3 separate regions of the Homo sapiens genome follow, and all the other regions are linked to region 1. Evidence: promoter capture Hi-C in human tissues and cell types (Jung and others, 2019). All regions are on one chromosome and are shown on one strand. The core of a region is centred on a gene start or on the middle of the fragment in contact, and the rest is flanking DNA. Distances in the headings are between cores, read along the strand shown.

The links. Contacts are between HindIII fragments. The study calls those that stand out against the background at their distance.
Region 2: the fragment with the promoter of ZNF708 here is called in contact with a fragment that was not itself captured in region 1 in 5 of the 25 tissues and cell types used here (bladder, hippocampus, liver and 2 more).
Region 3: the fragment with the promoter of ZNF738 here is called in contact with a fragment that was not itself captured in region 1 in 4 of the 25 tissues and cell types used here (adrenal gland, dorsolateral prefrontal cortex, mesenchymal stem cells and 1 more).

The regions. Positions count from the first base shown.
Region 1 is chr19:21,424,496-21,429,599 of GRCh38, reverse strand. It overlaps ZNF493 (zinc finger protein 493), which reads right to left. Exons shown (of 4, transcript NM_001076678.3): 4 at 2,023-5,104. The coding sequence ends at 4,616. Among named protein-coding and RNA genes, the nearest start is that of ZNF493, 30 kb to the right of the region's middle. The HindIII fragment of the contact is 5,489 bases long and covers 299-5,104 here.
Region 2 is chr19:21,326,053-21,331,156 of GRCh38, reverse strand. ZNF708 (zinc finger protein 708) reads left to right here and starts at 1,747. Exons shown (of 4, transcript NM_021269.3): 1 at 1,747-1,947. The coding sequence starts at 1,945. RefSeq lists a silencer at 1,434-1,655 and enhancers at 902-1,890, 1,775-1,954, 1,995-2,194, 3,283-3,804. The HindIII fragment of the contact is 12,621 bases long and covers 1-5,104 here.
Region 3 is chr19:21,356,744-21,361,847 of GRCh38, reverse strand. It overlaps ZNF738 (zinc finger protein 738), which reads right to left and starts at 2,848. Exons shown (of 5, transcript NM_001355237.2): 1 at 2,705-2,848; 2 at 1-82. The coding sequence starts at 2,707. RefSeq lists enhancers at 2,487-2,786, 3,578-4,135. The HindIII fragment of the contact is 7,981 bases long and covers 1-5,104 here.

The DNA of each region.
Region 1 (5,104 bases), core at 1,794-4,293:
CACAGCTAACAACATATTAAACAGGGATACCTTGCAAGATTTTACTCTAAGAGCTAGTATAAGGCAAGGATGCCCACTCATCCTTACTAAAGTCAGTCTTGCTAAACATAGTACAAATCCAAGACAAAGGAATTAGGGAATAAAATCAAAAGCATCCAGATAGGACAAATGGAAGTTAATTATTCCTGTATAATTATCTTTTATCCCTATGCATAATCTGAAGTATAGAAAAACCTAAGTAAGACTGGCTGGGCGCAGTGGCTCACGCCTGTAATGCCACTACTTTGGGAGGTTGCGGCAGGTGGATCACCTGAGGTCAGGAGATCAAGACCAGCCTGGCCAACATGGTGAAACCCAGTCTCAACTAAAAATAGAAAAAAAAAAAAAAAGTAAAAAATTAGCCAGGCCTGGTGGCACAATACCTGTAATCCCAGCTACTTGTGAGGCTGAGGCAGGAGGATTGCTTGAACCTAAGAAGTAGAGGTTGCAGTGAGCCAAGATCATGCCACTGCACTCCAGCCTGAGTGACAAGAGAGACTCAATCTCAAAAAGAAAAAAAAAAAAAGAAAAAAGAAAAGCCTAAGATTTTACTAAACAAATTTATTAAACTTTCAAAATACAAAAGCAACATCAAAGTCAGTAGCATTCCTATGCCTTAACAACTATCTCAAAATGAAAATTAAGAAACACTTTCATATACAATAACTCTAGTAATAAATTCAATACAAAGCAGAGTATACATTTGCTTTCAGCATTTTTGAGGCTTTTAGTTTTATACTAGTCACCTTGTTAAAATAATTTTTCCCCAATATTTCTTCTGAAAATAAGTACAAACTTCTACTCACACAAACTCACTTACTTTATAATTTCCTTACGCCTAAAGTTTATCTTTTAGAGTAATGTATATTTAACCCAAATTAAGTCGGTATGTGTTTCCATGCAGACAGGACACATGTTCAAATATATATATATGTATAAAATTTTAAGATATCTACTCAGGACTCAGAAGTGTATGTATTTTATTTATACTTGTATATGATTTCTTTTATAACCATAAAAATAACCCATTAGTCAATTACAGTTTAACTGTTCATTTTTTTTTTTTTTTTCGTGAGACGAAGTCTTGTAATGTCGCCTGGGCTGGAGTGCAGTGGCACGATCTCAGATCATTGCAACCTCTACCTCCCAGGTTCCTGGCCATCTCGAACTCCTAAGCTCAGGTGATTCATTCGCCTGGGCCTCCCAAAAGTTCTGGGATTACAGGCGTGAGCCACTGCACCCAACCATAACTGCACATTTTAAAATAATTTTTATTATAACCATAAAAATAAACCAGTAGGCAATAACAATTGTATATATATATTTTTTCCTGAGACAGAGCCTCACACTGTCACCTGGGCTGGAGTACACTGGCATGATCTTGGCTCACTGCAACCTCCACCTTTCAGGTTCCCTTGATTCTCCTGCCTCAGCCTCTTAAGTAGCTTGGATTACAGGTGCCTGCCACCACACCCAGCTAATTGTTTGTATTTTTAGCGGAGACAGGGTTTCACTATGTTGGCCAGGCTGGTCTTGAACTCCTGACCTGGTGATCCACCTGCCTCGGCCTCCCAAAGTGGTGGGATACAGGCATGAGCCACCACACCTGGCCATAATTGTACATGTTAAAATAAGTAAAAGTGTAGAATTGGGTTGTTTTTAATACAAAGAAATAAGTGCTAGAGGTGATGGATACCACACGTATCCCAATGTGATTATTACATATTGTATTTGTGTATCAAAATATGCCATATATGGCATAAGTATATAAACTCATGTACCCACAAAAATTAAGAAAAATAAATTTAAATGATTAAAATAAAAATAAAAATTTAACCTATAAGAACAATATTCTTTAACTTATTTGCAGTTCGAAGCCACTGGCAAAAGAGATGACTACAGATGTTAGTCCATGATGTTACCAAATAGTATATTGTTACCATCTTTTACGTATGCCATTTGGTAAGGTGGAAAATGTTAATCTTTGTGGCATAACAACACTTTATTGAATGCACAATAATATTTACCATGTTAAAAATGTTGAAACAGTTACCTTCACACAGAATTTAAAATTTTTTAAAATGTACTGCATTTTATTATATAAAAGTACAATTGGGGGGAGGGGGGACGGATAGCATTGGGAGATATACCTAATGCTAGATGACGAGTTAGTGGGTGCAGCGCACCAGCATGGCACATGTATACATATGTAACTAACCTGCACATTGTGCACATGTACCCTAAAACTTAAAGTATAATAAAAAAAGTACAATTAGTAAAATATATGAATAATATACTAGTTTTCTCATAATGCAAAAGAATATTACTCTTAACACCTACCTTGTGCATCACTCAATAGTATAAGTTAACCACAAAGAACCTCTCCACTTAGATTTTCACCATGCATCTTACATTTTAATATTCTTACTCATCCATAGAAAAGATCATAAATAATGCCCATCTAATGAAGAAGAATCTCTCATACCTCTGATGCAGCAACAAATGATCACAAGCTTTCACAAGTGAATAAGAATGAAGAAACAGCAGAAAATAATGAGTTGAGTTACATCATTTGCTTTTCAAAAAATCTGTAATTTTTTCAAGAAACAAAGTATAATCCGAATATAGTTATTATTCTACAAAAAATCTTTTACTCCTCTTAACATTATATACAAATAATTTTTCTACCAACTTTAGTTTTATTTTCTATACTCAGAACTCTCATTTAGTAGAATATTCGAAGTGTCGCTTCCTCATATATTTCTACTATAAATTCTGGTATTTACATAGACAAATTTGGATTAAAATTTTTTTTATTTTTACTACACCTTTGAAAATATATTTTCGTATAAACTCTGGTGTTTTCTAAGCTGTAGTTTTTGAAAATTTGTTTTCCCAAATTTATTACATTTGCAAGACAGCTCTCCAATATAAATTCCCTGATGTTGAACAAAGTTTGAGTGACCTCTTCAGAGTTTTTCTGTAGTACAAAATGTGGACAATAAGATCTGATACAAGTAAAGGTACTTCAACCCTCTTTATGGTTGTAATGTTCATCTTTAATATAAATACTCTCCTTCACTTTAAAGGATAATATTTTCTGAAAGATCTTTTGGCAGTAATTGCACTTATCATGCTTTTATTAAGCATGAACTCTCTGGTGTTTAGTAAGATGTGAGCAGATATTGACGTCTTTTTCACAGTCTATATTTCTACAATTTTTCTCAAATATAAATGATTTTCTGTGCAATAAGGTGTATTAGTTAAAAACTTTGCCACATTGTTCTTACTTGTAGGAAATTTTTCCAATATGAATATTACCTATAATCAAGTGTGACAACCATTTAAATACTTTGTTACATTCTCCACATTTCTAGGATTTCTCACCAATATGATTTCTTTTATGATTAGAAAAGTTTGAGATGTTGTCAGAAGCACTGTCACATCTTACTGGTTTGTAGAGTTTCTCTGCAGTAAGAATTATCGTATGTGTGTTAAGAACTGAGGACTAGTTAAAGCCTTTGCCATATTTTTCACAATCATAGGGTTTCTCTCCAGTATGAATTTTCTTATGTTTAGTAAAAATTGAGGACTGGTTAAAGGCTTTGTCACATTCTTCACATTTGTAGGGTTTCTCTCCTGTATGAATTATTTTGTTCAATAAAGTTTGAGGACTGGTTAAAAGCTTTGCCACATTCTTCACAGTTGTATGGTTTCTCTCCATCATTAATTATGTTTACTAGGAGTTGAGGACTGGATAAAGGCTTTGCCACATTCTTCACATTTGTAAGATTTTTCTCCAGTATGAGTTATCTTATGTTTAGTAAGGTTTGAAAATTGGTTAAAAGCTTTGCCACATTTTTCACATTTGTAGGGTTTCTCTCCAGCATGAATTATCTAATGTGTAGTAAGGGTTGAGGATTGGTTAAAAGGTTTGCCACATTTTTCACATTTGTAGGGCTTCTCTCCAGTATAAATTATCTTATGTGCAGTAAATTGGAGGGACAGGCTAAAGGCTTTGCCACATTCCTCACATTTGTAGGTTTTCTCTCCAGTATGAATTATCTTATGTTTACTAATGGATGAGGATTTGTTAAAAGCTTTGCCACATTCTTCACATTTGTATAATTTATCTCCTTTATGAATTATTTTATGTTTAGTAAGGTATAAGAATCAGTAAAAAGCTTTGAGACATTCCTCATATTTGTAGGGTTTCCTTCCAGTATGAATTATCTTACGTGTAGGCAGGGTTGAGAAGTGGTTAAAAGCTTTGTCACATTCTTCATATTTGTAGGATTTCTCTATGGTATGAATTCTCTTATGTTTAGTAAGGGATGAGAACTAATTAAAGCCTTTGCCACATTCTTCACATCTGTAGAATTTCTCTCCAATATGAATTATCTTATATTTAGTAAGGTATGAGAATCAATAGAAATCTTTGCCACATTCTTCACATTTGTAGGGTTTCTCTCCAGCATTAATTATCTTATGTGTATTAAGGGTAAAGTACTGGTGAAAAGCTTTGCCACATTCTTTAGTAAGGGAATAGGAGCAGTAAAGGCCTTTGCCACATTCTTCACTTTTGTACAGTCTCTTCAGTATGAATTCCAATATGAATTATCTTATGTCTACTAAGATGTGAAGACCGCCTAAAAGCTTTGCCACATGCTTCACATTTGTAGGGTTTGTCTCCAGTATGAATTAGCTTATGTTTAATAAGGTTTGAGGAATGGTTAAAAGCTTTGCCACATTCTTCACATTTGCAAGGTTTCTCTCCAGTATGAATTATCTTATGCGTATTAAGGTTTGAGAATCGGTAGAAAGTTTTGCCACATTTTTCACATTTGTAGGGTTTCTCTTCAGTATGAATTATCTTATGTTTAGTAAGGGTTGAGAATATACTAAAGGCTTTGCCACATTCTTCACATTTGTAGGGTTTTTGTACACTATGAATTTGCTTGTGCCCAGCGAGGTGTGAGGACCGCTTAAAAGCTTTGCCACATTCTTCACATTTGTAGGGTTTTTCTCCAGTATGAATTTTCTTATGTATACTAAGGATTGAAGA
Region 2 (5,104 bases), core at 498-2,997, 97 kb after region 1:
TAGTAGAGACGGGGTTTCACCGTTTTAGCCGGGATGGTCTCGATCTCCTGACCTCGTGATCCGCCCGCCTCGGCCTCCCAAAGTGCTGGGATTACAGGCGTGAGCCACTCCGCCCGGCCTGCCCTCTGCTCTGTCTATGACCACTGTCTGTTCTACCCTCAGAACCGAAGAGAGATGTTGGTAGGGAGAGGCTCTCTCCTCACCTCCGGCAGAAAAGGGATGTTCAGGTCGTTCACCCTCCTGATGTCAGAGCTGCACTTCAATGTAGCAGCTATTGGCCCTGTGTTGCTACTGGCTGCCTGGAATGCGCCTGGTCTGAACTGCGATGTGCTAGAAAGGTAAAATACGAGTTAGTTTCAAAGGTTTAGTTCCATATATATAGACACACTTCATTAATAATTACATATTTCTCACATATTAAAATGACAATATTTTCGATATATTGGGTTAAATTGTTACAATCAATTTCACCTGTTCTTTGTTTCTTTTTAAAAATAGAGCTAAACTCTTTTTAAAGTTTGGCTACAAATTAGCCGGGCATGGTGGCCAGCGCCTTTTATCTCAGCTACTTGGGAGGCTGAGGCAGGAGAATCGCTTGAACCCGGGAGGCAGAGGTTGCAGTGAGCAGAAATCGCGCCATTGCACTCCAGCCCAGGCAACAATGTGAGACTCCGTCTAAAAAAATAAAAATATAAAATAAAGTTTGGCTACTAGAAAATTTAAAATTTACATGTGGCTCACATTTTATGATTTTATTTTATTTATTTATTTTTTTTGAGACAGAGTTTCACTCTTGTTGTCCATACTGGAGTGCAGTGGCGTGATCTCGTCTCACTGCAACCTCCACCGCCCAGGATCAAGCGATTCTCCTGCCCCAGCCTCCCAAGTAGCTGGGATTACAGGCGCCTGCCACCATGCCCAGCTAATTTTTTTGTATTGTTTTAGAGACGGGGTTTCACCATGTTGGCCAGACTGATCTCGAACTCTGAACCTCAGATGATCCACCCTCTTCGGCCTCCCGAAGTACTGGGATTACAGGCGTGAGGTACAGCGCCCAACTTGTGGCTCACATTTTATTTCAGAGAATTGCCTCCTTTTTAAAATCTCAGGCTGCCTGCTCAAAGGACCAGAAGTCAGGAAGGTCACAAAATATAAAATTTTAGAACAGTTGGGCCGGGCGCAGTGGCTCATGCCTGTAATCCCAGCATTTTGGGAGGCCGAGGCGGGAGGATCACCTGAGGTCTGGAGTTTGAGACCAGCCTGACCAACATGGAGAAACCCCGTCTCTACTAAAAATACAAAAAAATTAGCCGGGCATGGTGGCGCATGCCTGTAATCTCAGCTACGCGGGAGGCTGAGGCAGGAGAATCGCTTGAACCCGCGAGGTGGAGGTTGCGATGAGCCAAGATCGCGCCATTGCACTCCAGCCTGGGCAACAAGAGTGAAACTCAATCTCAAAAAAAAAATTTTTTTTAGAACAATTGGGTTATTATATTCTTTTCATTTGTGAATAGCCATATAGCATATTATTTATAAGGGCATATGACCTTATACACAAGATTAAAGGCAAACACCCTCTCGGGTGGGCCTGGCTCAGCTCAGGGAGGAAGCCTTGCCTGAAAAGGCTGCAGCATAGGCTGTCACACTTCATTCAGCCCAGCATCTGATCACATCTTCCGTCCCTCAGGGCCTGAAGGGGCGGGTTTTAACATTATCCAATCAGGGACTCTGAGCTGGGGACAGTTCACTCAGACACGCAGCTGGACCGGACAGGGCGGCTTCCGGGTTTGGCGCGGCCTTTGTCTCTTGCTGCAGCCGGAGCTCCGGTCTCGTCTTCACTGCTGTTTGTCCTCTGCTCCTAGAGGCCCAGACTCTGTGGCTCTGTGACCTGCAGGTATTGGGAGATCCACAGCTAAGACTCCAGGACCCTCTGGAAGCCTAGAAATGGTGAGAGTGCCGTCCGACATCCCGAGAGAGGGGAAGGGCTGGTTGAAACCTGTGGGAAGTGGCTGTGGCGGGACTCAGGACTCCCCGCAGTCATCTCCACAATCTGCGCTCCGAGTTCTCCTTGCCTAGCTCGGCCTCAGTCCCCTTCAGCCATAAGATGGCGGCTGCGCCGACAGCCGGGCCCCCGGGCGTCCTGTCTCTTCCCTGCGCAGTGACTGTGCCCTGGCCTGCAGCCCTCTCTGGGCGGCTCTGCACCGGCAGCGCCGCGCCTCTCCCAGATTGTGCAGGGACCATGGGAGGGTGGTCAGGGGAGAATCCTGACTTGGGGTCGGGTTCATGAATGGGAAGAGCTTTGGTCTGTGGGGTTCCCGGTTCCTATTTTCTCCTATTAAAAATCTGTGGCAGTCATCGCAAAAAATATTAAAGAATTTAATCAAAGAGTGATTCAATAATTGTAGAGCACAAAAGTATGTTTTGTAGTTTGTGGTTCATGGGAGGAGCTTGAAGGAAAGACTTTTTATAAGGTGCATGATGAAGAAAACTATATTTAATAATCGGTTAGGTACATTTACGTAGCTGTTGCTGTTAAGTAGAAAGCCGGGGACTAGAGCCTCCTCAGTGTAATTGCCTGCCACTTAATTATTCTCACACTCCACAGGGGACTGATTTTCCCCTGCATTTTTCACATGCGTTCCAAGCGGGGTCTCAAGTGTACCTCCCAGCCCCATTCCTCCAGCCTAACTCTGGCCTGCAGTTAGATTTAAACTGCAAATAAACTAAAATACTAAATTTCTAGTTCCTTCTGACATTTCCAAATGCCAGCTTGCCTTTCCTAATTCACATTCTCAACTGTTTTTCCTTTAGTGTACATTTTTGATACTGTATTTTAGTTAATCATTTTTTGACAAAGCATTGGATGGCACTTAAAATTGTTTTCTGGTTGAAAATATTTCTCATGAGAAGAAAGCAAAAAATAATTCCCTGACACTGTATTTTATGAAATTTCTATGGCTTTTTTTTTTTTATCTTCCTCAGGCACAGAAATCTTATCAGAATGTTTGTTTTCAGGTGAAGGTTTTTCTTTGGAAACTTTACGGAGTGATGTGTCTTCAGCCACCCTTCAGTTTTTTCCTGGTCCTGGGTTTCAGTACTGTCTGGAGTAAACCAAGATACACATCATGACTTTTTCTGCTAGAGTGTCTAGTGAATATCAGCTCCTGGGTCATTTTTCTCCCTGAGGACAACCTGAGGTATGGAGTGTAGCTTCTCAAGGGAGCAGGTGGATGCCCTGGGGCTGAGAGGCATCTCCTGGCATACTCTTCCTTTGAAAAGCTAACCCCTTGAGACATTAAGATTGTCTTCACCCAACCCAGCTTCCATTTCTTGGAGACACAGTGCTGGTCAGCCAATCAGATGCTGGTATTGAGGGGAAAACACAGAAATAATTTCTGCCCCCTGAATTCTCTAAATTTTGTGGAAAAAAAAAAGTATCCCAAAAGACAAAGAAAAACCTGACCCAAGTGAGATGGTGCAAGAACTTACAAAGTAAAATGCACCTGGGGCATAGTGTAATGTCTCCTGAGAGGGTGGTTATTGAGCACTTAAGGTGAGCAGAATGGGGTGGGTGAATATCAGTCAGACACATCTGTTTTCTTTCTTTTCTTTTTTTTTTTTTTTGAGGTGGAGTTTCACTCTTGTTGCCCAGGCTGGAGTGCAATGGCACGATCTCGGGTCACCGCAACCTCCGCCTCCCAGGTTCAAGCGATTCTCCTGCCTCAGCCACCCGAGTAGCTGGGATTACAGGCATGTGCCACCACACCCAGCTAATGTTTTTGTATTTTTAGTAGAGATGGGGTTTCTCCATGTTGGTCAGGCTGGTCTCAAACTCCAGACCTCAGGTGATCCGCCCGCCTCGGCCTCCCAAAGTGCTGGGAATACAGGCGTGAGCCACCGCGCCCGGTCTAGACACATCTGTTTTCTAATTAGCACTACCACTCCCTGGGTTTGTCACCTTGAAAAGATTTGTTCACTTATGTTGACTTCCATTATTTAACTGTAAATTGCATTTTATTAATAGGACTTGGAAGGTAAGAAAATATTAACAGAGGGCATAAAAGAGGTGGATTTCAGAAAAAATTAATATTAATCATGTATTTTATTTGTGAGAAATTCTCATTTAAGTTTTCCTTTCTTAGAGTAAGTTTAGGAATTTTCTCAGATGTATTTTTTGTGAATATATATATAATCAAATATATATGTATTTATATTTATATTTAATATGGACTCTTGCTCTTGTTGCCCAGGCTGGAGTGCAATGGCACAATCTTGGCTCACTGCAACCTCTGCCTCCCGGGTTCAAGCAATTCTTCTGCCTCAGCCTCCCGGGTAGCTAGAATTACAGGTGGGCGTGCCACCATGCCCAGCTAATTTTTGTATTTTTTGTAGAGAACGGGGTTTCTCCATGTTGGCCAGGCTGGTCTCAAATTCCTGATCTCAAGTGATCCACCCGCCATGGCCTCCCAAAGTGTTGGGATTATAGGCATGAGCCACCGCGCCCAGCCTATTTTATGAGATTTTGGTGCACCCATCACCAGAGCATTATACACTGCACCAAATTTGTAGTCTTTTATCCCTCGTCCCCCTTCCACTCTTCCCCTCAAATCCCCAAAGTCCATTGTATCATTCTTATGCCTTTGCATCCTTATAGCTTAGCTCCCACATAACAGAACATACCATGTTTGGTTTTCAACTCCTGAGATACTTTGCTTAGAATAATAGTCTCTAGTCTCATCCAGGTTACTGCAAATGCTGTTAATTCATTTTTTATGGCTGTGTAGTATTCCATTGTATATATATACCACAGTTTCTTTATCCATTCATTGATTGATGAGGATTTGGGTTGGTTCCATGATTTTGCTATTGTGAAATGTGCCACTATGAACATGCGTGTGCAAGTATATTTTTCGAATAATGACTTCTTTTCCTCTGGGTAGATACCCAATTGTGGGATTGCTGGATCAAATGGTAATCCTACTTTTAGTTCTTTAAGGAATCTCCACAGTGTTTTCCATAGTGGCTTTTCTAGTTTACATTCCCACCAGCAATGTAGAAGTGTTCCCTGTTCACCACGTCCATGCCAACATCTACTGTTTCTTGA
Region 3 (5,104 bases), core at 1,599-4,098, 68 kb after region 1:
AAGAGTACTCCAGAAGATTCCTCTCAGCCCCAGGGTATCCACTTGCCCCCTTGACAGGATACACTCCATACCTCAGGTCGTCCTATGGGAGAAAATAAACCAGAAGCTGATATCCACTAGACACTCTAGCTGACATAACCATGGCAGATATCTCGGTTTATCCCCAGATAATACTGAAACCCAGGACCGGGAAAAAACTAAACGGTGGCTGAGGACACATCACCCCATAAATTTTCCAAAGCAGAACTCTGACCCAAAAAAATTCCGATAACATCTCTGTGCCTAGAAAGATAAAAGGAAAAGACACACAGAGATTTTTTGCAACACAGTGTCAGGGGATTATTATTTGCTTTCTTTTCATGGAAAATATTTACAAACAGATAACAAACCTTCTTAAAAGTACCATTGGTCTGGGTGTGGTGGCTCACGCCTGTAATCCCCACACTTTGGGAGGCCGAGGCGGGCGGATCACCTGAGGTCGGGAGTTCGAGACCAGCCTGACCAACATAGAGAAACCCTGTCTCTACTAAAAATAAAAAATTAGCCGGGCGTGGTGGCTGGCACATGCCTGTAATCCCAGCTACTCGGAGGCTGAGGCAGGAGAATCGCCTGAACCCGGGAGGCAGAAGTTGCGGTGAGCCGAGACCATGCCACTGTACTCCAGCCTGGGCAACAAGAGCAAAACTCCGTCTCAAAACAAAAAACAAACAAAAAAACCCCCAAAACACCATTTATGCAGGGCGCAGTGGCTCACGCCTGTAATCCCAGCACTTCGGGAGGCCAAGGCGGGCGGATCACCTGAGGTCGGGAGTTCATGACCAGCCTGACCAACATGGAGAAACCCTATCTCTTCTAAAAATACAAAATCAGCTGGGCGTGGTGGTGCATGCCTGTAAACCCAGCTACTTGGGAGGCTGAGGCATGAGAACCTCGTGAACCCGGAGGCGGAGGTTGTGGTGAGCCGAGAATGTGCCTTTGCAACAAGAGTGAAACTCCGTCTCAAAAAAAAAAGAAAAGAAAAAAGCACCATTTAATGCCTTGCCAAAAAATAATTAATTAAAATACGGTATAAAAAAGTACACTACAAAATAAGTGGCCAGGCCCGGTGGCTCACGCCTGTAATTCCAGCACTTTGGCAAGCTGATGCGGGCGGATCACCTGAGGTCAGGAGTTCGAGACCAGCCTGGCCAGCATGGTGAAACCCCCGTCTTTACAAAAACACAAAAATTAGCCAGGTATGATGGCGCGCACCTGTAATCCCAGCTACTAAGGAGGCTGAAGTGGGAGAATTGTTTAAAACCGGGAGGCGGAGGTTGAGGTGAGCCGAGATCGCGCCATTGCACTCCAGCCTGGGAGACAGAGCGAGACTCCATCTCAAAAACAAAACAAAACAAACAAAAAAACACAAATACGTGATAATGTGAATTAGGGAGGAAAAGCTGGCATTTGGGAACCCCAGAAGAAATTGGAAATTTAGTATCTTACTGCAAGCAAGAATGAGGTTGGAGTAATGAGGGATGGGGGTTAGACTTAAGACCCTGATTGGGACCCAGGTGAAAAATGCAGCAGAAAATCAGTTCCCTGTGGAGTGTGAAAATAATTAAGTGGCAGGCAATTAGACTGAGGTTTCTCTAGTCCCTGGGTTCCTACTTCAATTTAAAAAATCTAACTCAGGCGCATTATTTTTAATTACTAAATTCAGAGAAACAAAATTGAGGCTTCACCTACTATAAACTGCCAATTGAGCTCCGATTACATAACCAGGAAATTTTCACCTTTAATGTACAAATTAAAAAACCACGTAACTGTACCTAACCAATTACTAAATTTGGTTTTCTTCATCATGCATTTTACAAAAGACTTTCTTTCAAGCCTCTCCCATAGACCACAAACTAAAAACCACAGCTTGGTGCTCTACAATTCTAGAACCACTTTTTGATTAAATTATTTAATAAGTTAATTTTTTTTTTGAGACAAGAGTCTCGCTCTGTCGCCCAGGCTGGAGTGCAGTGGCACGATCTCGGCTCACTGCAAGCTCTGCCTCCTGGGTTCACGCCATTCTCCTGCCTCAGCCTCCTGAGTAGCTGGGACTACAGGCGCCCGCCACCACGCCCGGCTCATTTTTTGTATTTTTAGTAGAGACGGGGTTTCACCGTGTTAGCCAGGATGGTCTTGATCTCCTGACCTCTGATCCGCCCACCTCGGCCTTCCAAAGTGCTGGGATTACAGGCGTGAGCCACCGCGCCCAGCCTAGAACCACTCTTTGATTAAATTCTTTTAATATTTTTGCAGTGACTCCCATTAACTTTTAATAGGAGATAATAGGAACTGGGAACCCCACGGAACAAACCTCTTCCCATTCATGAACCCGCACCCCAAGTCAGGATTCTCCCCTGACGACCCTCCCACGGTCCCTGCACAATCCGGTAGAGAAGCGGCGCTGCGGGTGCAGAGATTCCCCAGAGAGGGCTCCAGGCAAGGGCACAGTCACTATGCAGGGAAGAGACAGGACGCCCGGGGGCCGGGCTGTCGGCGCAACCGCCATCTTATGGCTGAAGGCGACTGAGGCCGAGCTGGGCAAGGAGAACTCGGGGCGCAGATTGTAGAGCTGACTGCGGGGAGGCCTGAGTCTCGCCACAGCCACTTCCCACCGGTTCCAACCAGCCCTTCCCCTCTCTCGGGATGTTGGACCCCGCACTCTCACCATTTCTAGGCTTCCAGGGTGTCCCGGCGTCTTAGCTGTGGATTCCCAATACCTGCAGGTCACAGGACCAGAGGCTGGGCCTCTAGGAGCAGAGGACACAGAGCAGTGAAGACGAGACCCGGAGTTCCAGCGGCAGCCAAAGACAAAGAAGCGGACAAATCCCGCCACATCCCGGAAGCCGTCCTCTCCGCTCAAGCTGCGTGCCTGATTGGACAGTTCCCAGCCCAGCGTCGCTGATTGGATAACGTTTAAAACCCCACCCTCTCAGGCCCTGACTGACAGAAGATGTAATTAGATGCTGGGCTGAATGAAGAAAGAGTGACCGCCTAGGCTGCAGCCTTTTCAGGCAGGGCTTCCTCCTTGAGCTGAGATAGGCCCACCCCAAAGGGTATTTGCATTCAACCTTGCGTATAAGGTCATATGCATTTGTAAATACTATATCATATGGCTATACATAAATGAAAAGGATATAATAACAAATGTTTTAAAATTTCAGGGTTTTTTTACTTTCCTGGCTTACGGTCCTTTGAGCAGGCAGCCTGAGATTTTAAAAAGGAGGTAATCCTCTGAAATAAAATGTGAGCCACGTGAATTTTGAATTTTCTGGTAGCCAAACTAGAAAATTAAAAAGAAACAAGGGGCCAGGCATGGTGGCTCACGCCTGTAATCCTAGGACTTTAGGAGTACAAGGCGGGCAGATCAAGAGGTCAGGAGTTTGAGACCAGCCTGGCTAACATGGTGAAACCACGTCTCTACTAAAAATACAAAAATTAGCCGGGCGTGGTGGTGGACATCTGTAATCCCAGCTACGCAGGAGGCTGAGGCAGGAGAATTGCTTGAACCCGGGAGGCGGAGGAGGTTGCAGTGAGCAGAGATCGCGCCACTGCACTCCAGCCTGGGCGGACAGAGCGAGACTCCGTTTTGGGGGGTGAAAAATATAAAGAAACAAGAGGCCACGCGCAGTGGCTCACGCCTGTAATCCCAGCACTTTGGGAGGCCGAGGCTGGTGGATCACGAGATCAAGTGATTGAGACCCTCCTGGCAATATGGCTAAACCCTGTCTCTACTGAAAAAAATATAAAAATTAGCCAGGCGTGGTGGCGCATGCCTGTAATCCCAGCTACTGGGGAGGCTGAGGCAGGAGAATCGCTTGAACCCGGGAGGCAGAGGTTGCAGTGAGCCGAGATTGCGCCACTGCACTCCAGCCTAGTGACAGACTGCAACAACAGCAACAACAACAACAACAATAACAAGGAACAGGTTGAATTGATTGTAACAATGTAATTAACCTAATATATACAAAATATCATTTTAATGTGTGAGGAATATGTAATTATTAATGAAGTATATAAATATTTGCAACTAAATTTTTGAAAATAACTCTGTGTTTTACCTTTCTAGCATATCGCGGTTCAGACCAAGCACATTCCAGGCACCCAGGAGCCACACATGGCAGCTCTGATGTCAATGGTGTGAAGGGCCAGAGGGGAAGGAAGGGCCTCTCCCTACTAACATCTATCTTCAGTTCTGAGGTTGGAACAGATAGTGGCCATAGAAAGAGCTGAGGGCAGCAGAAATAAAATAACCACAGGTAAACCACTGCTTACCACCTGTTGCCCACCTTTCTTTTAGAGATTAGGCTGTGAACATAGGATGATGGAGCTTAGGAGAAAAAAACTCTGTGTCTTCAGTTCTGCCCACATTCTTGGACTCCAGTGTTTAGATACAGAGAAAATAGATTAAAGGCAAACTTATTTTGCTATTTGGCCTTGACCCTAATTGCGAGGCTGTGGTTATCTGTTTTCTCCTGTGGTGTGGGGACTGTGCGAATATAAACACCAATCACATGCATACATGTCTCCCAGTATTTCTGCATTACCCAACATTCTCTTTCAAGACATCCAACTTTAAATTAGGGGAAGAAATCAGTACCTAGAGGGTGCCCACTGTTAGAAGGCAACAAGTAATCAACCTGTCACTGAATCCTGGCATCCTATCTGCACTGGTGCATGTATTAGTTAGCTATTGCAGCATAACAAATCATCCAAAACTTACTAGTTTATAATTAAGATGATCAGCCATTTAGGCTGGGTGAGTGGGGCCGTTCTTCTGGTATCAGCTGAGCTCTTTCAGACTGGTATCATCAGCTGCTTGTTGACTAGCCAGCTGTACTTCTGGGGGTGATCTTCTGCTTCTGGGGCTCAACAGGGGCACCTTGCTTCTCCTCCTCATGGTATCTTATTTTTAAGCTTGCTAACATGGGCTTTATTCATGGAGATTGCAGCATTCTGAACAAAAAACAGAAGTATTCAAGACCATTTGAGCCTGGGCCCCAAACTAGCCCACTGTCATGTTCACAAGTTTCTACTGCCCTGAGCAAATAAGGCCAGCCAGATCTAG